4 separate regions of the Homo sapiens genome follow, and all the other regions are linked to region 4. Evidence: promoter capture Hi-C in 16 types of primary human blood cells and fetal thymus (Javierre and others, 2016). All regions are on one chromosome and are shown on one strand. The core of a region is centred on a gene start or on the middle of the fragment in contact, and the rest is flanking DNA. Distances in the headings are between cores, read along the strand shown. Region 1 overlaps SYNPR (synaptoporin). Region 2 overlaps SYNPR (synaptoporin). Region 3 overlaps SYNPR (synaptoporin). Region 4 holds the start of PSMD6-AS1 (PSMD6 antisense RNA 1).

Region 1 (2,700 bases), core at 84-2,583, 640 kb after region 4:
AAAGACAGCAAAATGGAAAATTGATTCCATCTTACGAAGCTTGAACACCAGGTTCCAAACTTTAAAGCATTGGATTGGTGCATCCAGTGGGAAAACACAAATATTAAAATGTTTTAGAAAAGTAAAAGATAAAGAAATATCACATAGCTTATGTTATTTGGCCATAAGCATTTAATTGTTTTAACTTTTCAATTGATTTTATGTTGTTTTTGCAGGTACATATATTCTCTGAGATCTACTTTCCCTATACTGGGTGCTCCTCTTTCCACACTTAACCCCCTCCTCCATTTTGCAGACTCTATCAGTTTGCTCAGGCTGCCAAGGCAAAATGATTTTGACAACAGAACTTTATTTTCTCAGAGTTCTGGAGGCTGGAGTCCAGGATCAAAGTGTCAGCAGAGTTGGATTCTCCTGAGGTCCCTGTCCTTAGCTTGCAGACAGCCACCCTCTTGTTGCCTCTTCACATGGCCGCCTTTTGTGCATGCATGTTCCTGGTGTCTCTTTCACTTCCTAAAAGGACACCAGTCATATTGGATTAAGTTCCCACTCTAAGGGCCTCATTTTAACTTAAACTCCTCTTTAAAGACCTTACCATTAAATACAGTGACATTCTGAGATATTGGGGGTTAAGACATCAAATTGTGAATTTTGCAGACACATGATTTAGCTCATAACACAGACCATGAGTACAGAGGATTTATTTCTCCCTATCTTGACAACAACAGCATCTTCATGTAAGGTGTCCTTCTCAACTCTAAGAAATGTCCTTGTTGAAGCTTTGTTTGAATGTCTATCAACAACACAATCACTTGTCAAATCTTCACAATCTGACTTGAAGCAACACTGTATAAATAAAATACCTCTTTCCAAAACTGTCAATAAACTTCTTCAGCCAAAATCAAAGGCCATTTTTTTCATTCTATCTTTCCTGGTTCAGTCTGTAGCACTGCACACCATCACTGCCACCTCTGATTGAAAATATGATCCTTCCTTAATGACCATGGCTTTATACTCCACAGAACTCTTTGTTATTCCTTCTCCTAATTTTGCTTCTCTGAGGTCCAGATTCACTCGTCTGGCCTGTTCCTTCCCCATTAATCTTAAGAAAATCTTGTCCCTTTAAGTAACTCAATCATCGCCTTTTTCACAAGTGACCCTGCAGTGACATCTCCAGACTTGAATTGCCTCAGAACTTGGGTCTTTTACATCCAACTTGAAGCTCTTCATCTTCAATTTTCTCAACTGGAACTCAGCATATGCAACATCACATTCCTCTTTCATTCAAACTAGCGCCCTTTCTTGCACTCTTTCTCTGCTTCCCTGTAGGACACTCAGCTCAAAGCCTGGCATTACCACTGGTCACTCATTAATGTATTATCCAAGTATTTACTGAACCTCTGCTGGGAAGCAGACAATGTGCTAACCAAGGCAGATATCTGTGAATGAAACGTGCATAGTTCTCAGCTTTGCAATTGCTCTTGGTCCAGGCAAACACCTCTCTCTTTGATGCTCCATAGCCTGTCACTAAATTCTATAAATCCTCCTTCTAAACATCATGCAGGCTCATCTCTACTTTTTAAAAATTTCTTGCTGCCAAAATCAATGTCTCGTTTCTCAATACATCAGTTTTTATCACACTGAGATTGCTGTAATAACCTCTAAACTGATCCTATGCCCCTAATTTCCATTTTACTTGATCCTTACCACCCAATCTCTGTAGAATATCACGGCAATACTAACCTTTAACTACTAGTATTATCACTGTCACTTCCTGCAGAAAATCATCAGTGATTGTGCTTGCCCTCTTAAAAATAAAATCCAAACTTCAGATCTGGGGAAATGGGAAGAAACATGTAGGTGTGAGTTATTATTTTATTACTTAAAAGCTTTATGTTCCCAGGAAAGTCACTTACCATCTCTGGGCCTGTTTCCCTAGTTGAAATATTAGTATTAAAATTGGTAACTAGCTCATGAATTATTTAAATTATAATTCAAGGCCAGATGCAATAGCTCACACCTGTAATCCTAGCACTCACTTTAGGAGGCCGAGGCAGGCAGATCACCTGAGCTCAGAAGTTTGAGACGAGGCTGGGCAACATGGTAAAACCCCATGTCTACCAAAAATCTAAAAATTAGCTGGGCATGGTGCATGTTCCTGTAGTGTCAGCTACTTTGGAAGTTGAGTTGGGAGGGTTTGAGCCTGGGAGGTGGAGGGTGCAGTAACCCGAGATCGCAGGACTGCACTCCAGCCTGGGAGATAGAGCCAGATCTTATCTAAAATTAAATAAATAAATAAATAAATAAATAAATAATTCAACAGTGATGCTTAGAGGATATTTTCCAAACTTCAGAATGTACTGTATTTATGTAGGAGTCTTTCTCTAACTCAACACTCTGAATTTTTACAAGATTCTCACTTATAAATTCAAAGTTCTACTTGGTATTATAAAATATAAAATTACTCCTTACTTTCCCCAGTGGGCCTGGATAATATCTCAACAATCTCAAATTTGCTGGGGAGTTTGTAACCCCAAAAGTGCTAGGAGATCCATCTTGAAGTTTCACATCTGGCCTAGAATTTCCAGGTATGCCCACAAATTATAGACAAAAGGCAAAATGGTATTTGTCCATTTTAAACATATAGTGTGCATAGCTCACAGGGTTGTTATGAAGGATACTGGCACACACTATTGCTACTGC
Region 2 (2,700 bases), core at 113-2,612, 660 kb after region 4:
TGGAGTTGCTCTCCAGATTGCAGTGTCTTGTAAAGATTCTCCACCATCTTTACATAATATATACAATTATTATTTGTCAATTAAAATAAAGTTAAAAAGACAAAGTGATATGGTTTAGCTCTGTCCCCACTCAAATCTCATGTTGAATTATGGCTCCCATAATTCCCACATGTCATGGGAGGGACCCGGTGGGAGGTAATTGAATCATGGGGGCAGGTCTTTCCGGTGCTGTTCTCATGATAGTGAATAAGTCTTAGGAGATATGATGGTTTAACAAAGGGGAGCTCCCCTACACATGCTTTCTTGTCTGCCACCATGCAAGACATCCCTTTGTTCTTCCTTTGTCTTCCCCCGTGATTGTGAAGCCTCTTCAGCCATGTGGAACTGTGAGTCAATTAAACCTCTTTCCTTTATAGATTACCCAGTCTCGGGTATTTATTTATTAGCAGCATGAAATGGACTAATACATAAAGGATTCTCCATTGTTTCTGCAAACCTAGGTGCCTGAAGTATATTTGGGTCTTGTTCATCAATGTCCCCTTTTTTCTATTTGCTTCCCAGTTGCCTTTTAACAAATTCTCTGTTTACATCAGTTAGCTGGAACTGAATTCTGTTGCTTGTAGACATAGAACCTTAACAGATAAATAAGTGTTTTCCCAAGAGGTGATCTGTGGACTACTTGCATCTGAACCATCGAGCTTTATGATACTGATCCACAGTCCTCACTATAGGCCTCTAAATCAGATTTTCCAGCCGAATCTGCCGGTTTGAAAAGCTCCTCAGGAGATTCTTTTATTCACTTCGAGAACTGGGTGAGAGGATTTTCAAGAATCCTTCCCACATTAAAATTCTAAAATTGTACAGGAAAAAAAAAGAACAGCTCCTTGCAAGCCTTCAAGTCTTGATGATCAACTCCTGCTCACCTCTTTGGCCGCATTTCCTATCCCTCTCCCCTCAGTGCACACCACACCCCAGCTTTACTGGCATTCTCTCTGTTTCCACCCCAGGACCTTTGGACTTACTGTCCTCTCAGCCTGGCACTCCCTCCAAGGTCTTCACAGGGCTGGCTTCTTCCTTTCCTTCAGGTCGGCTCCCCAGAGAGCAGGTTTCATATTTTCCATCCCACATTGCCCCACAGCACCCATGCTGCCGATCCTAGCATCTTAGCAGTTCTCACTGTATGAGTCGATTATCATTCATTCTTTAGCAGTTCTCAGTATCTGAGTCAATTATCATTCATTCTTTCACTACTTCTTTTATCTCTCCCCCACTTAGAACTTCTTAAGTTCCAGGACAGGAAGAATGGGCTTTATCTTGTCACCACTCCATCCCCGTTGCCTGGAACTTTACTTGTGACATAGCAGGCAGGTTCTTAGCAAATATTATTCAGTAAATGAAATCTATAAATCTTAGATAATCTTTGAACGTTATCCTACATATGCTATTACTATAAAAGCAGTCTGAGAGTAATAAAACCAAATGTCACATTTACCTTCAGGAATTTGTCATCTCAGATAACATTCCTCAGTGTTATCACCCACTGCTCCCAAATTTGATCTCTATTGCCTGAAAAACTAAAAAGAGCTACTGTTTTAATTTCAATTTCCTTGTCTAAGGAAAACCTGGCCTAAATTTTCTTAAAGCAACAAAGAACCAAGAATCTTTGCTTCTTGGAAACGGGAAAGCGAGCTAGAATGATTCCCTACTAGGGTGCACTCACACTTGATTTGAAAAGCACACGTACCCTCTACTGGAAGTATGCAGTATTGCAACTTGAACTCAAACTGTCAAACACATTAAGCAGGGAATGTCAAATGTCCTGTTACCCCTGAAACTGGATGAAGTAAGCAGAGGAAAAGAGCAACACAACAACAAATAAATGAGCAGTACTTATGGTGCTTATCTGTTCTGAGGGTTAAATCGGCCAAGATCAATTGGGCGGATCACTCAGAATTCTGGCTTCTGAGATGTTCAGTGCATTTCCTCCTGTAAAACCAACGAAGATCAGGGACAACTGTTCACTTTAGGACAGTCTACTACGTAAATAGGACTAACTAGAGAAAAAAAATGCAAGAAAGCATAATGTCTGATAAGGGGCACACAGTCAAGAGAGTGAGGATATGACCTAAATGGAACCCAACTGAGGGTCAGATTCCTCATTGGTAAAACAAGGAAAGGATTTAGAATAAGTAACCATAAAGGAGCTGCACCTTGAACAGAGGTCGAGAAGTCACTAACTGATGGGCTCGGGGGCCAATTCAAGCTATAGACATGATTTGGCCCAACTATTAATTGGGAGGGACAAGGGTTCTCCAGTTTGCTACAGCATGTTTGTCTGTCTCCCCTGCACATACATGTATATTTCTGATTGTGGTGTCCATAGCAAGTGCAAGTGTCATTTCCATTTAGCACACTGCTGATTTTCTAACAGCCAGCCTGCTTTATGCACTCATTTTATTTGCCTGTTCCCTGCAGGCATTTGACTTACACTTTTGCCTAGTCCCTTTGGCTGTTTTGCATAATAGTGCAGTGTCTCTTCTCTTCACTGCAAAGTGCATGTGTGCATATGCACGCACACACACACTACACACACATACACAGGCATACACACACAGCTTTAGCAATATGGCTTTTCTTTCTCCTCCTATCACGATATAGTCTGAAGTCCCACTTGCAAAAAAAATATGAAGAAGACAGAGC
Region 3 (2,700 bases), core at 198-2,697, 680 kb after region 4:
CAGATTCAAAAGCTTTCTTAATTTGAATTCAGAAAAGGAAAGCTAAGATGAACTCAAAATTTAAGAAAAAAAACCTGTTTTTGAGAAAGTCTGCATTTTAATATGCTGTTTTTAGGATATGACTTATTATTCTAAGGCAGTGGTTCTCAGCCAGTGATGATTTTTGTCTCCTAGGAGACAGTATCTGGAGACATTTTTGGTTGTCCAACTGGTGGCGGAGATGGGGCAGGGGGATGTATTACTGATATCTATGAGCAGAGGCCTGGGATGCCACTGCCATCCCACAAACTCAGGGCAGCCTCCAAACCAAGGGACCAGGCAGCCCAAAATGTCAACTGTGCCAACATTGATTAACCATGCTCTTGGATAATATAGACTAAAAAGAACCTTGCAGTCACACAGACTGAATTCAGATCCTTGATGCGTCACCAAATAGCTGGGTGACTTTGGGGAAGTCACTAAACCACTCTGGGCTTCAATTCACTGTTTATAAAACAGGGATGATGGAACCTATATTCCAGGGTTGTGCTTAAGACCAAATGATCGAAGAAGCCTGAGACATCAAAAGTGTTCAATAAATGTTTCATTATTATTAAGGTTAAAACCCATCCACCCATACCTTCTCTCTTCTCTCCCTTTCTTCCCTCCTTCCTTTCTTCCATAAATATACTGAGTAAGTAGTCTGTGCAAAGTACTGACCTAAAGTCTAAGGATGCAATAGGAGAAAGGGCAGATAGGGCAGATATATTTTGGCCCTCATGGAACTTACATTCTGATGTGAGACGCAGTCATTAATTGATCAGTTACTTCCGAAGTATAAACAAGTGAGCTGTACAAAGCCATGCAAGGGTAAAGGGATCAAACCTGAGGATGGAGGGTGGCAGAGCACAGTCAGGGAACACTTTCCTGTGCAAGGGAGGTTGGATCTGAACACACAGGGTGAGCTAGGGTAGGGAGTAAAGAGGGGTGAAGAAGAGAAAGCCAAGCCCAGGGAACTACAGCCTGAAGTTTCTGAGGCAGAAAGGAGCATGTGACTTCATAAAGTCCAATTATAAAACTCAGGCATCCTCCACACTATAGGTCTTCTTCTGAAATGTTTTTTCCAGATCTATATGCTCAGCATGTTTTGAAAGGAACATGCCTCAGAAAAGATGGAAGCATTGCCCCTCAAGAACTGCCTACCAGTCGAAGACAACTTTGGGATTCATAAAGCAACTGTTTTTAATCCCATCATTTTCAATTTTTCCCATCTAGCCTACTAGAAAGTAAATGCCAGAAGAGGCATATCAACTTATGCCTCTTCCAAACCTCAGCTCCTGGCACACAGCCTGGCACATTAAAACTCAGTAGATATTTGTTGATTTGTTGTGAGAAGTCTGAGGTCCACGGTCCAATTCTGTGTGACTTTAGAAAAGTTTCTGAACCTCTCTCAGTTTCAATTTCCTCATAAAGAAAGTGGGAGAGTGTACTAACAGCAGGTTCTTACTACTGGGCTGCTAATAGCAGGTTCACATCCTGTAAATAATTTTTTTAAGTTCCTCAAGTAAAAGTGTTAGCATGGACTTATATTTAAGCCCAAGCCCCTTCTAGACTACTGGCCTTTCAGAGTGGTCTTGGTGGAATGAGCTTCAAAGCGTTAGTATAAAGATACGTGAGCATTTAAGAAGAGAGGGTTATGGTATATTACTACTCTTCCTTTTGTTATTATTAGAGGAAAAGGAACAGAACAAACCAAATGGTTTAGCAGGATGAATTGGGACACAGACAAGAGGATTCTTGAAGAATTCTAAAGACTGCACTTGCTCATGAGCATCTAATAAACTCCTGTGGTTATGCTTTATTATCTAAAAGGCATTTATTTGTGGCTGCCTTAGAAGAATTCTGAAATGATAGTCCCAGAAGTATGTTGAGAGATCCTTTAATCCTAGAACGGCAATAGGTTTCATTTTCACCTGTAAACTCTGTTCAGTTTTAAGGTTGCCTGGATCAGTGTGTTGGGAAGAATCCTGAGGCTTCATCTAGATTTAAGGGACACATAATGCAATGATCAATTAGTGATGTCTGTCCTAGGCACAGTGTGGTCATAGTGGTGGTAATGATATATGTGCTGTGTATTTTCTGACCCTCATCTAGGCCAATACCTTCCTTACAATGATGATGAAGAATCAGAGTTCAGTTACCTGTACAAGTGTGAACTAGGTCTAGAGGATAAGATTAGTAGGTCTCTCTTACTGTTAATTTTTTTTGTCTGAACAGACAGTTTCATCGTAGAAACTTTTCTTCCTTATCTAATGGGGCTATTCATTACACGATTCTATAATGAGGTGGATCATCAAGAGCATCTGTTCCATTCCTAGACTCCCATAGCTAGCTCTTCAACTGCAAGTTATACAACCTTGGACAAGTCACTTAATCTCTCTGGACCTCAACTTTCTTATCTGTAAAACAGAAATAATAATAGTAACAATAATAATAATTCCTCTTTTATAGGGCTCATACATAGATTAAAGGAATTAAAACTTATAAAGTATTAAATTGTGACCAGTATATAAGAATATTTTATAAGTGTTTATCATCTCCTCTTTTTATCCCTACTTTGGTCAGAGCTTTTATTTAAGGACTGAGATGCACACTGAGAGAGAAATAGTCTCTCTCTTTCTGCGGTCTCAAGCAGGAAGAATCACTTAAACTTGAACCCGT
Region 4 (2,700 bases), core at 187-2,686:
TTGCCTTTTAAAATATGTGAACTTGTACAATTTTTTACTTGTTTACATTGGTTCCCTCAATCTTAACGGGGAGGGGAGAGGTTTTTTTCCTCAGTATTATCAAAACATTCGTATCCTGTTGCCTCTGCCTTCCTCATGTCATGTCTGCCCCTTGCATTAACAGATGGGAAGATGAGTTGTAGTGAGGCTAAGTGATTTGTTAAAGGTCATTAGACCAGTTGTTATCAAAAGTTGTCTTCTGTTACTTCTTTGTAGACCACACTGCAGCTACGGTAATGACTCTTAGATCTGATATTTACAGTTGGTCATATTCCCTCTGATAATTCCTTCCAGTTTTTAGGTTGCTGCTGCAATTCTGGTCAGATTGGTTGTTAAATGTGGGACTTTTAGTACTTGCATCAGTGATTAAACAAATAAATACTTAATGAGCCATTCATTACTATATGTTTGGTATTGTTTTACAGCTCCCTTTTCACACTTTCATTGTAGTAGTAGGGAAGAGATGGCAAGGAAGCAAATAAATATAAAACGTAATTTCACATATAGAAATGAACCTATGGAGATGAGAAAATGCTATCCTTACGTACGGCATGCTTAAGGAGGTGAGGTTTGCTCTGAGATTTGAATTGAGAGGAGTCAGCCATATGGAGTCCTTCTGCGTGCAGAAAAGGGAATAGAAAAGGCTAAGGCTTTGAGCCAGGAATAAGCTTGGATGTTGTAGGAACAGAAAATGTCAGGGTGGCTCCAGCATAGTTGGAGTGGTAGGAGATTTTGAGGATAATATATGGAGAGTTAGGTAGGTAATGATTTGTGTAGGGCCTTGTAGGTCATGGGATGGAGCTTGAGTTTTAAGTAAGTTTGATAGGGAGCCATTGGAAGATTTAGAGCCCAAGTTACATGGTCCTATGCAGTGTCTTTATATAAGAAATAGAGTAAGGTGGCAGAGAGGACCAGTTGTGCTGTTTAGTAGCTCTTAGAGGAGATGTTACCGTGGCGTGGACGAGGGTGGTGAGAGTAGAGTTGGGTAGGAGACATACTCAATATGGGATGTCCAGATGGCATCTAGATCAGTGGCTCCCACATGTAGGTGTTTTTAAATGTTGATGATGGTGTTTTCAATGGTCTGCAGTGGAAACTTTAAATGAAGATGCATTTCTTTTAAATAAGACCATTCTCTTTCTAGTATTTTTTAAATTTCGAACATCCATAAAATTGTAAAGAAAGAATTGTACAGTACATTTTAACATATTTGCTTGTTACAATCTATACATTTTATGTTTTTTAACCACTTCAAAGTAAGTTTCAGACACCAACACATTTTTTAAATGATCCCTACCATTTTTTAAATGATCCCTACCAAAATGGAAGGCTGGTATCCCAAGGTTTTGTTCCATTTCTCAATTCTAGTCTGTGAAATTGAAGTCTGATGACCACTCTTAAGAGGGCTGTTCATTAGGGTGCGGGCTGGGCATTATGAGTGTGTTTTTCATGAGTCAGTGGAAGGAGGGGCTTGTTGTGAGCAGTGCATGAGAAAAACGGCTTGGCTTTGCTTCTTTTTCCAGCTCTGTGGCCTTGGTCAGGTTACGTCTCTTCAGTATCGTAACTGTAATGTGGAGATAAAGCCTTCATTAGTTAGGGGCACACACCGCAGTATTCCTTAAGTCATCTTGATGACAAGTGAATGCAAGGCAGCTGGTACCTTTCAGGTAGTAGTTGAATTCAGGTAGTATTTGTTCAGTTTTTTTTTTTTCCCTTCATGTTCTAAGACCAGCTTGAGAGGCAAAGGTTGTACCACTGAGCTCTAGTTGTTGTTACCTAAAAAGGCCTTGTTTTAAATTTCTGTGATACCTAAGAATTTCAAATCTGGGTTGTCATGGATTCTTTATTCTTTTTTTCTCCCTTAAAAAGTTACATTTTAGATGAAATCCCCTTTTTTAAAATGGGCAAAGCAATAATTCTACATCATTTCTCCCCTTCCCTTCCACTTGTTTAGACTAAGATATGTTAGAGAGGGAAAGGGTCGTTGTTTTAGTAAATACTATTGCTGTTGACATGTTAATACTATTGCTGTTGACATGTTTACTGATGGGCTGTGTTCCATAATTTTGTTTTAGGTCTTTTGTTTGAAACAGTTTACTGTTTTTATCAGTTTTGGTCCCTAATTTTTCCTAACCTACAGTTTTTCTCTGAGTACATATGGTTTCATTGTTTGATCTACTTTCTATCTATCTGAATATGAACTTCTAGGATCATGTTTATTCTAGTAGATGATGACTTAAAGCCTGCAGTATAGGAGGGACAACGTCAACTACTGCATGTGCAATAACAAGCTTGAAGGGAAGCTAAATGTTTGTTACAAATTTAAGACAGTATTTTAATGCCGTTTGCATTTTTCTAAGAATTTTCTATAAAGCTAATTCTGTTATTTTTTGTCTCTAAATTAGGGAACTGTCCAGGTTTATTGCTGCCGGGAGACTACACTGCAAAATAGATAAAGTGAATGAAATAGTAGAAACCAACAGGTACTCTCATTTCTCAGAATAAGGGGCATTCCTAAATTTTAAAAGTAGGTCAACTATTGTCATGGAATAATGTGACTGGTAAATAATTCATTTTTTCTTGAATTTATTTATAGACCTGATAGCAAGAACTGGCAGTACCAAGAAACTATCAAGAAAGGAGATCTGCTACTAAACAGAG

The links. The method cuts DNA at HindIII sites, captures the fragments that hold promoters and counts their contacts. A CHiCAGO score of 5 or more calls a contact.
Region 1: a contact is called between a fragment that was not itself captured here and the fragment with the promoter of PSMD6-AS1 in region 4, in 1 of 17 cell types (M2 macrophages). The highest score is 5.7, in M2 macrophages.
Region 2: a contact is called between a fragment that was not itself captured here and the fragment with the promoter of PSMD6-AS1 in region 4, in 9 of 17 cell types (monocytes, M1 macrophages, M0 macrophages and 6 more). The highest score is 17.2, in monocytes.
Region 3: a contact is called between a fragment that was not itself captured here and the fragment with the promoter of PSMD6-AS1 in region 4, in 2 of 17 cell types (monocytes and M1 macrophages). The highest score is 7.7, in monocytes.

The regions. Positions count from the first base shown.
Region 1 is chr3:63,366,955-63,369,654 of GRCh38, reverse strand. The region is part of intron 2 of SYNPR (synaptoporin); the gene reads right to left. Among named protein-coding and RNA genes, the nearest start is that of SYNPR, 90 kb to the right of the region's middle. The HindIII fragment of the contact is 1,110 bases long and covers 779-1,888 here.
Region 2 is chr3:63,350,408-63,353,107 of GRCh38, reverse strand. The region is part of intron 2 of SYNPR (synaptoporin); the gene reads right to left. Among named protein-coding and RNA genes, the nearest start is that of SYNPR, 73 kb to the right of the region's middle. The HindIII fragment of the contact is 4,284 bases long and covers 1-2,700 here.
Region 3 is chr3:63,330,491-63,333,190 of GRCh38, reverse strand. The region is part of intron 2 of SYNPR (synaptoporin); the gene reads right to left. Among named protein-coding and RNA genes, the nearest start is that of SYNPR, 54 kb to the right of the region's middle. The HindIII fragment of the contact is 2,866 bases long and covers 15-2,700 here.
Region 4 is chr3:64,010,700-64,013,399 of GRCh38, reverse strand. PSMD6-AS1 (PSMD6 antisense RNA 1) reads right to left here and starts at 1,436. Exons shown (of 2, transcript NR_189168.1): 1 at 1,358-1,436. PSMD6 (proteasome 26S subunit, non-ATPase 6) reads left to right here. Exons shown (of 8, transcript NM_014814.3): 7 at 2,445-2,522; 8 at 2,636-2,700. It overlaps PSMD6-AS2 (PSMD6 antisense RNA 2), which reads right to left. Exons shown (of 3, transcript NR_038286.1): 3 at 1,157-1,603. The HindIII fragment of the contact is 1,623 bases long and covers 710-2,332 here.